2 separate regions of the Homo sapiens genome follow, and region 1 is linked to region 2. Evidence: promoter capture Hi-C in human tissues and cell types (Jung and others, 2019). All regions are on one chromosome and are shown on one strand. The core of a region is centred on a gene start or on the middle of the fragment in contact, and the rest is flanking DNA. Distances in the headings are between cores, read along the strand shown. Region 1 has its middle 46 kb from the start of MELK. Region 2 holds the start of MELK (maternal embryonic leucine zipper kinase).

Evidence for each region. The method cuts DNA at HindIII sites, captures the fragments that hold promoters and counts their contacts. A contact is called where the count stands out against the background at its distance.
Region 1: a fragment that was not itself captured here is called in contact with the fragment with the promoter of MELK in region 2 in 1 of the 25 tissues and cell types used here (stomach).

The regions. Positions count from the first base shown.
Region 1 is chr9:36,523,066-36,530,487 of GRCh38, forward strand. No RefSeq gene overlaps it. Among named protein-coding and RNA genes, the nearest start is that of MELK, 46 kb to the right of the region's middle. The HindIII fragment of the contact is 9,163 bases long and covers 1,588-7,422 here.
Region 2 is chr9:36,571,435-36,578,901 of GRCh38, forward strand. It overlaps MELK (maternal embryonic leucine zipper kinase), which reads left to right and starts at 1,461. Exons shown (of 18, transcript NM_014791.4): 1 at 1,461-1,573. RefSeq lists an enhancer at 180-679 and a silencer at 1,263-1,542. The HindIII fragment of the contact is 26,418 bases long and covers 1-7,467 here.

The sequences.
Region 1 (7,422 bases), core at 4,919-7,418, 44 kb before region 2:
CTGGGTTCATGCCATTCTCCTGCCTCAGCCTTCTGAGTATCTGGGACTACAGGTGCCCGCCACCACACCCAGCTAATTTTTTGTATTTTTAGTAGAGACGGGGTTTTACCGTGTTAGCCAGAATGGTCTTGATCTCCTGACCTCGTGATCCGCCCACCTCGGCCTCCCAAAGTGCTGGGATTACAGGCGTGAGCCACCGCGCCTGGCCTCTTTGTTTTTGTTTTTTTTTTTTTTTTTGAGACAGAGTCTCACTCTGTCGCCCAGGCTGGAGTGTAGTGGTGTGGTCTTGGTTCACTGCAGCCTCCGTCTCCCAAGTTCAAGCCATTCTTCTGCCTCAGCCTCCCGAGTAGCTGAGACTGCAGGTGCGTGCCATGACACCTGACTAATTTTTGTATCTTTTTGTTTTTTGAGACGGAGTTTCGCTCTTGTTGCCCAGGCTGGAGTGCAATGGTGCGATCTCGGCTCACTGCAACCTCTGCCTCCCGGGTTCAAGCAATTTTCCTGCCTCAGCCTCCCGAGTAGCTGGGATTACAAGTGCCCGCCACCACGCCCAGCTAATTCTTTTTGTATTTTTGTAGAGACAGGGTTTCACCATGTCAGCCAGGCTGGTCTCGAACTCCTGACCTCAGGTGATCCACCCGCCTTGACCTCCTACAGTGTTGGGATTACAGGCGTGAGCCACCAGGCTCGGCCTCAATTTTTGTATTTTTAGTAGAGAAGGGGTTTCACCGTGTTGGCCAGGCTGGTCTCGAACTCCTGGCCTCAAGTGATCTGCCTGCCGCGGCCTCCCAAAGTGCTGGGATTACAGGCATGAGCCACCATGCCTGGCCCTAACCCATTTCTTAAAACTATTGGAGTGCCACATCTTCCAAATAGTTTGTAAGGAAAATTGATTAAAGGAAGATGAAAATTTACTAGTTGGATTTCAACAAAATGCTGTGCATAGTATTTATAATTGAAAGAGGATATCAAGTTTTAGTATAGTTGTGGATCTACATGTCACTGTGAAACATCTTTTTTAGTATGACAGTCTCCAAACAAAGCATCCACAAAAGCTGAAATTAGAACAGACGTGGGCTGGGTGCAATGGCTAATAAAAATACAAAAATTATCCGGGCGTGGTGGCAGGTGCCTGTAGTCTTAGCTACTTGGGAGGCTGAGGCATGACAATTGCTTGAACCCAGGAGGTGGAGGTTGCAGTGAGCTGAAATTGCACCACCGCACTCCAACCTGGATGACAGAGCAAGACTCTATCTCAAGAAAAAATAAAAAAACAGACCTTTAAATTTCTATATCACAAATTATTTTAAAATATTCTTAGAATAAAGAAATACATTCGATCACATTGTACTCATTAAATATCACTGGTCACAAAAATATTTTTCTATAGCTAATAGATAAAATAAGATAAAAATAATTTGAAATGTTTTTAAAATAATAATTTATTAGCTACAATAAAATTTAATTTTTTTAAATTCTGTGTCCAAATCTTTTTATTTTTTTAATTTATTTTATTTATTTATTTATTTATTTTTTGGAGATGGAGTTTTGCTCTTGTTGCCCAGGCTGGAGTGCAATGGTGCAATCTCGGCTCACCTCAACATCTGTCTCCTGGGTTCAAGTGATTCTCCTGCCTCAGCCTCTGGAGTAGCTGGGATTACAGGCATGCGCCACCACGCCTGGCTAATTTTTGTGTGTGTGTATTTTTAGTAGAGACAGGCTTTCTCCATGTTGGTCAGGCTGGTCTCAAACTCCCAACCTCAGGTGATCTGCCTGCCTTGGCCTCCCAAAGTGCTGGGATTACAGGTATGAGTCACCGTGCCTGGCCTTATTTTATTTATTTATTTATTTATTTATTTATTTATTTATTTATTTATTTATTTTTGAGACAGATTCTGGCTCTGTTGCCCAGGCTGGAGTGCAGTGGCTGATCTCGGCTCACTGCAACCTCCGCCTCCGGGTTCAAGCAATTCCCCTGCCTCCCATGTAGCTGGGACTACAGGTGCCCGCCACCACGCCCAGCTAATTTTTGTATTTTTAGTGGAAACAGGATTTCACCATGTTGGCCAGGATGGTCTTGATCTCTTGAGCTCGTGATCCGCCTGCCTCGACCTCCCAAAGTGCTGGGATTACAGGCATAAGCCACTGCGCCCGGCCCATCTTTTTCTTTTTTATAGAGTCTGGTTCCCTTTGCCCAGGCTGGAATTCAGTGGTGAAATCATGGCTTATTGCAGCCTCGACCTCCCAGGCTCATCCTCCCGAGTAGCTGGGACCACAGATGCACACCATCATTCTCAGCTAATTAAAAAAAAATTATTTGTAGATATATGGTCTCCTTATGTTGCCCAGCCTGGTCTTAAGCTCCTGGGTTCAAGTGATCCTCCCACTTCAGTCTCCTGAGTAGCTTCCCAACTACTCAGGCATATGCCACCAAGCCCAGGTAGTGTTTTTGTTTTTGTTTTTTTTTGGTAGAGACAGGGTTACCCTATGTTGCCCAGGCTGGTCTTGAACTCCTGGGCTCCAGAGATCCTCCTAGATCAGCCTCCCAAAGTGCTAGAACTACAGGCATGAGCCACCGTGCCCAGCATAAAACCAAATATTAATAACGTCATTTGGCCTCAAACATAAGCCATGTTCTCCAACCTAGACTTTATTAATAATGAAAATGACATTTTAATCTTAATCAGCCAGCATCTTTGACTACAACTAAAATAGTTTTGAATTGAAAAGGAAAAGGGGGGCGGAGGTTGTTGATCTCCTAATAGTGGTGACCTTTTGTTTGATTTTTGAAGACTGAGTAGAATAAGGTCACCAAGCAAAGATGTGAGAGAGGACTTTGCAGGAAAGGATAATGAGTACAGAGAAAATTTCGTGATCAAAGTTATGGAAACATTAAAGAGTCTGGTGCACCAGGGAAGTGCCTGGCTGTTGTATTCAGGGTATGTATTGAAATGTGGTAGGAAAAGAGCCTGTTGGGCCATAGGCATGGATCCAGATCAGTGCTAGCTATATTTGTCTTCAAAACAGAGGTTGTTTTTATCATGTTCTCCACTGGTTTCCTAGCGCTTGGAACAGTGTCTGGCTAAGGGAAAGGAATGAAAGACATTTTACACTATGTTTAATAAATTTGCATGTTCCCCTGTAAGTGATAGGGGATTTGGTTCTTCAGCCATTCCCTTTCTTCTGTGAGTTAGCTCATATCATTTTTTCTTAAGTTAAACATGACCGCTTTCTGTTGCTTGCAACCAAAGAACCCTACCTGATTCAGTTGGCACAGTTCATCCCCTTACAGGAGATACATCCCCTGTTAAGGGAGTATCTCTTTTTTTTTGAGACGGAGTTTCACTCTTGTTGCCCAGGCTGGAGTGCAATGGCATGATCTCGGCTCACTGCAACCTCCGCCTCTTAGGTTCAAGCGATTCTCCTGCCTCAGCCTCCCTAGTAGCTGGGATTACAGGCAACCGCCACCATGCCCAGCTAATTTTTTATATTTTTTTTAGTAGAGACGGGGTTTCACTATGTTGGCCAGGCTGGTCTTGAACTCCTGACCGCAGGTGATCCACCCTCCTTGGCCTCCCAAAGTGCTAGGATTACAGGCGTGAGCCACCGTGCCTGGCCAGGAGTATCTCTTACATGAAGAATATCAAGGACATTCAAAGTGCTTTTAGTAGTGGGCCACAAATTCAGAAATCCCTGGGTGTGCAGCCACTGGCATTTAAACTAATGGCAAGTCAAGAGGGTTAGTATGCGTAGTAGATGGAAGTCAAGTGTATGTATTTAAGTCAAGTGTATGCAACATATGAATGAGCAGAAACATTAAACGTAACCTTTAGGAAAAGACAACAGGCAAGTGCAAACAAAAAGAAAGCGGACTATGCATTATTCATATCACAAAATAAATTCAAGGAAAGCAAAATCTATTTAGATATTTACTAAAAGGAGAGCACTACGTAACAGAGCTTATGGGAACGGGCCAAATCTCCACTTACAAGAAGATTAACAACCTTAAATTTCTTTATTGTAGAACTAAGAATGAAAATACCTGAACTGAGCAGTCAGTTCAAGAAAAATGACAAAAAGAAGAGAGCAGACTGAATGAGAATTTGGCCACAGTCCATTTCATAGGTGTGGGACAGGGAAAGGAAAAAGGGCCTCTCAAATGCACAAATAACATGATCAGAGAGGTGCAAGTACAACCAAGGGAGCTCAGTTTCACAGAACCAAGGGGAACAGAGTTTTTTGGTGTTTTTGTTTCAGACAGTGTCTTGCTATGTTGCCCACACTGGTCTTGAACTCTTGGCCTCAAGCGATCCTCCTACCTCAGCCTCCCAAAGTGATGGTGCTGGGATTACAGGTGTGAGCCACCATGCCAGGCCATGGGAAATGGAGGTTTTTTTGTTTTTGTTTTTGTTTTTTTTGAAACAGAGTTTCACTCTTGTTGTCCAGGCTGGAGTGCAATGGCGCAATCTCAGCTCACCGCAACCTCCGCCTCCCGGGTTCAAGTGATTCTCCTGCCTCAGCCTCCCGAGTAGCTGGGATTACAGGCATGTGCCACCATGCCCAGCTAATTTTGTATTTTTAGCAGAGACAGGGTTTCTCCATGTTGGCCAGGCTGGTCTCGAACTCCCAACCTCAGGTGATCTGCCCGCCTCGGCCTCCCAAAGTGCTGGGATTACAGGCGTGAGCCACCGAGCCCGGCCTGTTTTTGTTTTTGAGACAGGGTCTCACTCGTACCCAGGCTGGAGTGCAGTGGCATGATCTCAGCTCACTGCAACCTCCGGCTCCTGGGCTCAGGGATCCTCCTACCTCAACCCCCCAAGTAGCTGGGACTACAGGTGCAAGCCACCACACCTGGCTAATGTTTGTATTTTTGGTTGAGACAGGGTTTTGTCATGTTGCCCAGGCTGGTCTTGAACTTCTGAGCTCAAGCAATCTACCCACCTCGTCCTCCCAAATTGCTAGGATTATAGGCGTGAGCCACCCATCCAGGCCAGGAAATGGAGTTTTAATGAATAAGTGAGGAGCTGCAGAAGGGAGGGAGTAATCAACAGGGTCAAACAAAAAATGAGATCCGATAAGAAAATGTCTTAAATTTCTACAGAGCTTGGCAATTACCAGTAAGAGATCAGCAGGATTTATTCTGAGCTTTCCATAGAAAGAAAATACTTTGGCAGAATTAAAGGGAAGGACACTAGAATTGTGGTCATTTCTCATGTTTGCCATCCAAAGTCTCCTTAGACCTCTTACGCTACGTGTACTCCAATTTTTCCGGGGAAGAGACATCCTTTTTTTTTTTTTTTTTTTGAGACAGTCTTGCTCTGTCGCCAAGGCTGGAGTGCAGTGGTACAATCTCGGCTTATCACAACATCTGCCTCCCAAGTTCAAGTGATTCTCCTGCCTCAGCCTCTCAGATAGCTGGGACTACAGGCACACACCACCATGCCCAGCTATTTTTGTGTGTGTGTGTGTGTGTATTTTTAATAGAGACAGGGTTTCAACACATTGGCCAGGCTGGTCTCGAACTCCTGAACTCTAGTGATCCGCCTGCCTCCCAAGTACCAGCTGATGCATTTCTATGTCCAGGGTGTGATATGGCAGACTGTGGGTTGAATAACCCCATTCTCATTCCCAACCCTGTTTTCCCTTGCCTGCCTCACTTGTACTCACTTTCCCAACAACCTTATAGCAAGCAGTGGCCAGATGGTATGTATCCCAAAACAGACATGATATCCAGGTAGATATAAATGACTAGAACTGGGCCGGGCACAGTGGCTCACACCTGTAATCCCAGCACTTTGGGAGGCCGAGGCAGGCAGATCTCTTGAGGTCAGGAGTTTCAGATCAGCCTGGCCAACATGGTGAAATCCTGTCTCTACTAAAAATACAAAAATTAGGCCTGGCACAGTGGCTCATGCCTATAATCCCAGCACTTTGGGTGGTTGAGACAGGCGGATCACCTGAGGTCAGGAGTTTGAGACCAGCCTGGCCAACATGGTGAAACCCTGTCTCTACTAAAAATACAAAAATTAGCCGGGCGTGGCAGCATGCGCCTGTAATCCCAGCTACTTGGGAAGCTGAGACAGGAGAATCACTTGAACCTGGGAGGCAGGGGTTGCAGTGAGCCGAGATCGCGCCATTGCAGTCCAGCCTGGGCAACAGAGCAAGACTCCATCTCAAAAAAAAAAATAAAAAAAAAAATAAAATAATACAAAAATCAGACGGATGTGGAAGCAGGCGCCTGTAATCTCAGCTACTTGGGAGGCTGATGCAGAATCGCTTGAACCCAGAAAGTGGAGGTTACAGTGAACCGAGATTATGCCACTGCACTCCAGCCTGGGCGAAAGGAGACTCCATCTAAAAAAAAATACAAAAATTAGCCAAGCTTTGTGGCATGCACCTGTAATCACAGCTACTGGGGAGGCTGAGGCAGGAGAATCACTTGAACCCGGGAGCAGGAGATTGCAGTGAGCCAAGAGGTGCCACTGCACTCCAGCCTGGGTGACAGAGTGAGACTCCATCTCAAAAAAATAATAGAAATAAAAATAAAAGACATGGCCAGATGGGGTGGCTCACGCCTGTAATCCCAGCACTTTGGGAGGCCGAGGTGGGTGGATCATGAGGTCAAGAGATCAAGACCATCCTGGCCAACATGTTGAAACCCCGTCTCTACTAAAAATACAAAAATTAGCTGGGCATGGTGGCGCGCCCCAGTAATCCCAGCTACTTGGGAGGCTGAGGCAGGAGAATCGCCTCTGGGAGGCGGAGGATGCAGTGAGCAGAGATCGTGCCACTGCACTCCAGTCTGGGTGACAGAGCGAGACTCTGTCTCAAAAAACAAACAAGCAAACAAACAAACAAAAGATACATAACTGGAATTGGGACACCCATCTTGTGAGAAACAGTAAAAAATCAAGAGAATCCCAGCTCTACCAACCCCAAGTCCTTGAGCCACTGGGTCGACATGTTACTATATGACTTCAGACTTTTGTGTGTGTGTGTTTTTGACACAGAGTCTCATTTTCTTGCCCAGACTGGGGTGCAGTGGTGCAGTCAATCTCGGCTCACTGCAACCTCTGCCTTCCAGGTTCAAGTGATTCTCCTGCCTCAGCCTCCCAAGTAGCAGGGATTACAGGCGTGCACCACTATGCCTGGCTAATTTTTGTATTTTTAGTAGAGACAGGGTTTTCACCATGTTGGCCAGGCTGGTCTCAAATTCCTGACCTTAAATGATCCACCCGCCTTGGCCTCCCAAAGTGCTGGGAATACAGGTGTGAGCTACAGCGCCTGGCCTGACTTCAGACTTTTTATGATGTGAGAAAAATACACCCCTGATGTCAACTCCTGATGTAAAGTCTGTCCTTGTACTTGAATTAATGTCTGTTACAGAAGACTTGTGACTTATAATGATGCTGATTTTGTCCC
Region 2 (7,467 bases), core at 211-2,710:
AAGCTGCCTCCTTATGCATTTTAAGTTCAGACTAACAATTTATTTCTTTCTCTCTCTCCCTTTCTCTCCCTTCCTTTCCTTTCCCTTCCCTTCCCTTCCCCTCCCTTCCCCTCCCTTCCCCTTCCCTTCCCCTTCTCTTCCTTTCTTTCTTTTCTCTCTCTCTTTCTCTCTTTCTCTTTTTTTGAGACGGAGTCTTGCTCTGTTGCCCAGCCTGGAGTGCAGTGGCACGATCTCTACTCACTGCAACCTCTGCCTCCCAGCAGAGAGAATCAAGAGATTCTCCTGCCTCTACCTCCTGAGTAGCTGGGATTATAGGCTCGCGCCACCAAGCCCGGCTAATTTTTTGTATTTTTAGTAGAGACAGGGTTTCATCATGTTGGTCAGGCTGGTCTCGAACTCCTGACCCCAAATGATCTGCCCCCGCCCCCCCACCAAAGTGCTGGGATTATAGATGTGAGCCTTTGCACCTGGCCTAACAGTTTCTCCATACATAGTGAATTGTAGACAACTACAATTGTAAATGTGTAAAGAGACTGTAACCTTGTAACAAGTAGCGAGTCTCAGTCAATCACAGCAGCGGAGTTTTGGCCAATCACAGGTGGCCAACTGTTTAAACAGTGCTCAAAATAGTCAGAGGTTGAGTTGCAACCAATCCAGCTGTTTCCATACTTGACTGCAATTTCTGTAAGTCATTTTCCTTTTTCTGTCCATAAATGTTATTTGAACATATGGCAGCCCGAATCACTCTGAACCTATTTTGGTTCCAGGGATTACTGGATTTTGGACTCATTCTTTGGTCAATTCAACTCTGTAAAGTTTAATTTGTCTAAAGATTTTCTGGGCCGGATACAGTGGCTCACGCCTGTAATCCCAGCACTTTGGGAGGCTGAGGCGGGAGGATCGCTTGAGCCCAGGAGTTCGAGACCAGCCTGGCCAACATAGCGAGATCCCGTCTCTACCCACAAATAATTTAGCCAGGCGTGGTGGCGCGTGCCTGTAGTCTCAGCTACTGGGGTTCTTATTCCTCGTGGCAACACATTTTGGAGAGGGGGAGGTATTCCTGTCTTTGCTGGGTGGGAGAACGGCCAGTGGGCAAGGGAGGACGAAAATGAGAACTGTGACTGCCAGAGGGCACGTCAATTTTAGGAAGAGAACGTAAGAAAGTTGGGTTCTGTGGAGACTTGGCATATCCACGCCACCTGGAAAATCATCACGTGCCCTCCGGGGCAAGACCAAGGCCTCAAGTCACCCCTCGCAGCCCAGTGGACCTCCCGGCCATCCCTTTCACGGCTCCACAGCGACCGCGAGCCGTTGCCCCGGTGAGAACCCCCCGGCACTGTGCGCGCCCCCGCCTGCCGTGCGCGTCCGCTTCCCTGGGATCCGGCGCCGCGCGCGCCCCCGCCGCGTCCCCGCCCCTTCCGGCCCGGGAGATTTGATTCCCTTGGCGGGCGGAAGCGGCCACAACCCGGCGATCGAAAAGATTCTTAGGAACGCCGTACCAGCCGCGTCTCTCAGGACAGCAGGCCCCTGTCCTTCTGTCGGGCGCCGCTCAGCCGTGCCCTCCGCCCCTCAGGTCAGTTCTCCCGCCTGCCCGCCGCAGTCGCAGTTGATGGCTGGGGTCTGGGCTGTGCGGGGCGCAGCGGCCCAAACCCAGTTTGCTCCTGGCTCTCGGGAGACTGGAGGATTTCATCGGAGCCCCGCGCTTTACCAGCCCTGTTCCCTGGATAAGATATTTGACCTTTCCGACCCGCGGTTTTCTTCTCCGTAAGTGGGGATAATGACCGTGTCTACTTAACAGGGTTATTGAAGAGGTGTTCAGGCTAAGCGTTTGCCACCTAGGAGGCTGCGATAGACGTGAATTCCCATTTCCCGTTTCCAGTTTCCGTGACTCTTCCCCGCGAAAAAAGTTGACAGAAGGGTTTCGAGTTTTTTCTGTTTGTACAACTCAGTTTACTGGGGCAGTGCAATAAAAAAGGAGATGTGTTATCACTACCTTTTCAGAGTCCAAATCCATCCTCTCCTATCATCTCCCCAGAGTAGTGGCTTCAGAGGCTCACACTAAAAGGGGAATTTTTTTTCTTTTTCTTCAAGACGGAGTTTCGCTCTTGTTGCCCAGGCTGGAGTGCAATGGCGCGATCTCGGCTCACCGCAACCTCCGCCTCCCAAGTTCAAGCGATTCTTCTGCCTCAGCCTCCCGAGTAGCTGAGCTTACAGACATCCGCCACCACGCCCGGCTCATTTTTTGTATTTTTAGTAGAGACGGGGTTTCACCACGTTGGCCAGGCTGGTCTCCAGCTCGTGTCCTCAGGTGATCCGCCCGCCTTGGCCTCCCAGAGTGCTGGGATTACAGGCGTGAGCCACCACGCCCGGCCTAAAAGGGGAATTTTCACCGAATGCTGTATCAGTAATAGGAGCAGCAGGATTGCTCCCACCAAGAAACCTGGTGTAGGGTTGTGGGAGCTGGAAAGGGTAGACTCAGGGAAGGCTGCCCAAGAGAGGAATCAGGTCCCTAGCACTTAGGACGGGTAATTACCTTTGGTATTTCTCCTTTGTTAGTGGAATGAGGTGAGTATCAGGAGCCTGGATTGTTGTTTAGAGGCCAGTGTTCCTAACTTTGGTTTAAATTTTGGTTTCTGTTTCCCATGGAGTCTGGCTAGAAAATCAGAAAAATCAGAAAAGCCCTTACTGGGCCTTCGTGGGCTTGTTTCTCCCAAGGGTCTGTCCTTTCTGTGTAACTACTGTGGACCAACTAGATGGGCAGATCAATCCCAATGAGTGCCTCATTGTTGGTGCTCCCAGAAGCCTTTGCAAGGGAGCAGGGCAGGATGCTAATTAAATGTGTTACAGGCCACATTATAAACCATTCTGAGCCCGGCGTGGTGGCTCACGCTTGTAATCCCAGCACTTGGGGAGGCCGAGGTGGGCGGATCACTTGAGGCCAGGAGTTCTAGACCAGCCTGGCCAACATGGCGAAACCCCGTCTCTACTAAAAATACAAAAAAAAAAAAAAAAAAAAAAATTAACCGGGCATGGTGGCGCATGCCTGTAATCCCAGCAACTGGGGAGGCTGAGGCACGAGCATCTCTGGAACCCAGGAGGCGGAGGTTGCGGTGAGCCGAGATCTAGCTACTGCACTCCAGCCTAGGTGACAGAACGAGACCCTGTCTCAAGCAAATAAACAGACAAAACCCAAAAAACCATTCTGTATTCTACTTCCTGTTTGAAATTATCCTCAGCATCAGTGTCTTTCCAAGCTCTGTAGATAAGGTAAATGTATTTATGCGGCAAGTAATAGAATAGCCCAAATAATATTGTTAAAAAATGCCCCCAATTTGTTGCTATCCTTTAAAATTTAACCATAAACGTCTTCTCATTATCCCAATTCCTTGCTCTTCTGAGAAGTTAAAGACCCCAATTATAGGCCGGGCGCGGTGGCTCACGCCTGTAATCCCAGCACTTTGGGAGGCCGAGGCAGATGGATTGTGAGGTCAGGAGTTCAAGACCAGCCTGGCCAAGATGGTGAAACCCCATCTTTACTAAAAATACAAAAAATTAGCCGGGCGTGGTGGCGCACACCTGTAATCCCAGCTACTTGGGAGGCTGAGGCAGAATTGCTTGAACTCAGAGGGCGGAGGTTGCAGTGAGCCGAGATTACGCCACTGCACTCCAGCCTGGGCAAGAGAGCAAGACTCCGTCTCAAAAACAAAAACAAAAACAAAACCCAATTATATATACCCCCAATTCTTCTATTTATTTAGTCAAGCCCAGAAGGGCACTCAGGTGTCTGATTGGGGTCTAATTTCCTTCTTCATTATTCACAGTTGAGAGGCTGTCTTCCGCGTTGACTGATAATATACCTCCTTCAGCAGCTACAAAGTTGGGTTACTCTGTTCTCAAGGCTTTTCTGTATTCTATATTAACAAACTCTAGAGGATAAACAGGGCACATGAGAATATTTAGAACCAGCTCCACATTCACAAAGATTTACAAATCAAGTATAATCTGCTATTAGTGTAGGAGTTTGTAATGTAAGCACCAGTTTTCTCACATTGCAGCAACAACGATATTCCCTTGATTCAGTAGCTATAATCTAGGCCCACATTGGTATTACTCATCCAAAGACATGATGTAATTTGAGAGAAGCGGGTAGATAGAGAAAATGGAAGAAAGAAAGAAAAAAAAAAGTGCATGGCTTCAGTCTTACCTTAGTTGTTAAATAAACAACTTGCCCATCTCTGCTAGTTTTCCAGAGGCCATGACTGGGATGTTTATAACTCTTTTGGGAGAAGTCTATTAAGTTAATTATGACACTCTTAAATCCCTAATCTGGGAAGTGAATTCCAGCATCTTACAAATTGCTTTCTCTTTCTGAGTGACAATTTGAAATAGCCCAGTCCTTTGCATGGAATGTAAACATGTGCATTCAGATTTATAGTCCAGTGTTCCTCCATTTCCATTCTCCTGCTCTCTTTTTTCTTCTGTATCAGGATTCCAAAGATTTCTGAGCCTTAGGTTGACCTCTATACTTTTACTGTTTTTATTGCCTTTTGGAATTTCTTAGTCCTATGGTTCCTGTTTGTTTTTAGGATGAGGTTCCAGTTTATCCCCACATTTGCCCCACTGACAAATGCCCTTTAAAATATTTCTGAATTAGTGTTGCTGTTTAAAGTATTTAATCCTGTGCCTTCAGGTGCCCAGTGAGAATAAATTTGTCCTCTGTGATATCTCCTTGCCTTGAGTAACTTTTTCTACTCCAGTGGAAGCAGAATGTTTCATTTTCTATCAACAGTTTTCCCTCAGTACTGGGACCTGACCTTGCTTCTTCTAATGTTTGCCTACTGTGTTCATGCAGATTTCGTTAGGTTAAATGTTCAACCTACTTATTAAGTTGGGTCCAGTGTGATCTCTTCCTAGGAAATGGCTTAATATTGTTTATTTTATCAGAATGTCGTTTTGCATGTTATCTTTTTGTGTGCTATTTCTGCTTTGATGTTGAAGACTGAACCTTGTTTTTTAAAGCTGATTTAATTTTTTTCTTGAGTGTCGATATTTTTCCTTCTAAAGCTTCTGCTCTAGTTTTCTATTCATTGACCAAATTTTTTTTGTTTGTTTTTGAGCTGGAGTCTCACTCCTGTCGTGCAGGCCAGAGTGCAGTGGCGTGATCGCGGGTCACTGCAACCTCCACCTCCTGGGTTCAAGCGATTCTCCTTCCTCAGCCTCCCTAGCAGCTGGGATTACAGGTGTGCATCACCACGCCCGGCTAATTTTTGTATTTTTAGTAGAGACGGGGTTTCTGCATGTTGGTCAGGCTGGTCTCGAACTCCTGACCTCAGGTGATCCACCTGCCTTGGCCTACCAAAGTGCTAGGATTACAGGCGGGAGCCATTGTGCCCAGCCGTTTTTTACTTGCTGATAATAATTTTCTTTTTCTCTCCAAGTAAAATGATTCATGGAATCAGTGTTTCAGGCATAGAAAAATGATATTTTTAAAATGTCCTTTGTGGCTTTTGGGGTTTTGATAAGTTCATTCAGAATTTTTTCCACCTCAATTTTAAGAAGACTACTCATCATTGTATGAAGGGCCTTCTCTTATTAAGCTCTGTCTTCCTTTATAAGCTCACCACACTTCTGAGGTTGAACTCACACTCTAGGTCTTCCAAATTCATGGCCATTATTAAGGCTTAGTAACATGCTAGTCACTCAGTTCTGGATAAGGGCAGGGTGAAGAACAGAGAATTTGAAGGTAGTTTACGTGGCACCTGCCACTCATCAGTTTGAGGCTTAAACAGGCTTGCTTGGCCAGGGCGATGGCTCACGCCTGTAATCCCAGCACTTTGGGAGGCCAAGGAGGGTGGATCACCTGAGGTCAGGAGTCTGAGACCAGCCTGGCCAACATGGCGAAACCCCATCCCTACTAAAAATACAAAAATTAGCCGGGTATGGTGTTGTTGTTCGCCTGTAGTCCCAGCTACTTGGGAGGCTGAGGCAGGAAAATAGCTTGAACCTGGGAGGCGCAGGTTGCAGTGAGCTGAGATCGCACTACTGCACTGCAGCCTGGGCACCAGAGCAAGACTCCATCTCAAACAAACAAACAAACTAGCCAGGAGTGGTGGCATGTGACTCCTGGCCTCAAGTGATCCACCCACCTCAGCCTGCCAAAGTGCTGGGATTACAGGCGTGAGCCACTGCACCTGGCCTCGACTAGATTTTAATTTTTAATTTTTATTTATTTTTTTGAGACACAGCTTCGCTTGTTACCCAGGCTGGAGTGCAGTGGCATGATCTCGGCTCACCGCAACCTCTGCTTCCCGGGTTCAAGTGATTCTCCTGCCTCAGCCTCCCTAGTAGCTGGGATTACAGGCATGGGCCACCACGCCTGGCTAATTTTTTATATTTTTAGTAGAGACGGGGTTTCTCCATGTTGGTCAGGCTGGTCTTGAACTCCCGACCTCAGGTGATCCGCCTGCCTCAGCCTCCCAAAGTGCCGGGATTACAAGTGTGAGCCACTGCGCCTGGCTGTTTTTTATTTTTAGTAGAGACAAGGTCTTGCTATATTGTCCTGGCTTGTCTTGAACTCCAGGCCTCAAGCAATCCTCCTGCCTTGACCTCCCAAATTGCTGGGATTACAGACATGAGCCACCATGCCCAGCTATCTTTACGCTTCTTCCTTTTGCCACTCCTAGCTGTAGGTTTGGTATGGGGAAGACCTTAGCTATCTATGTTTTCAACATTTCAAATATTTGTCTTTTGCTTTTAAGTCTTTACAACTGTTACTGATTTTGTATGGTGTGAGATAGAGATCCAATGTGTTTTTTTTTTTCCTTCACCTCATGGCTAATCAATTGTCCCAGCTCCAGAGCTGCATTTCCATCACCTGTTACCTCTAAAAGCAGCCTCAGTTCAGTACCTGTCAACTTTTACTTCCTCTAGGATCTTTGCACCTAAATTCCCTCTTTCTGGAATATTCTCCGTCTATTTCTTTGTGGGCTATGACTGTTAAGGCCTACAGACCAAAGACCACATCTGTAGTAAAAATCATTAGATGTATTTAGTTTGCTGCGCAAGAGAAACCATACTCTTGAGAATTTTGGGTAGTCTCAGAGTGAGTTGAAAGGGGCAGAATGAGGGAAGAATGAGGTGGGCCTGAGGATGTCATTGAAGACAATGAAGTCAGTCAAATAAAGGATCTTTATTTTAACAGCCTTGTATGGAAACATTGTTTATATGGTTATGTTCAGATTCTATTGAAACCATTGTTCAAGTTTTGATAGGAATATCACAGTCTGATTACTGGCAGGGCTGATTTTCTCAATTCTCATCCTTTGAATTAGAGCTTGGCTTAAATGTTACCTTCTCAGAAACCACTGTTGCTTATTTTTATTTCAGTATTTAGTATAGATAATAATAATAGTAATTATTATTTTTTGAGACAGAATCTTGCTTTGTCTCCCAGGCTGGAGTGCAGTG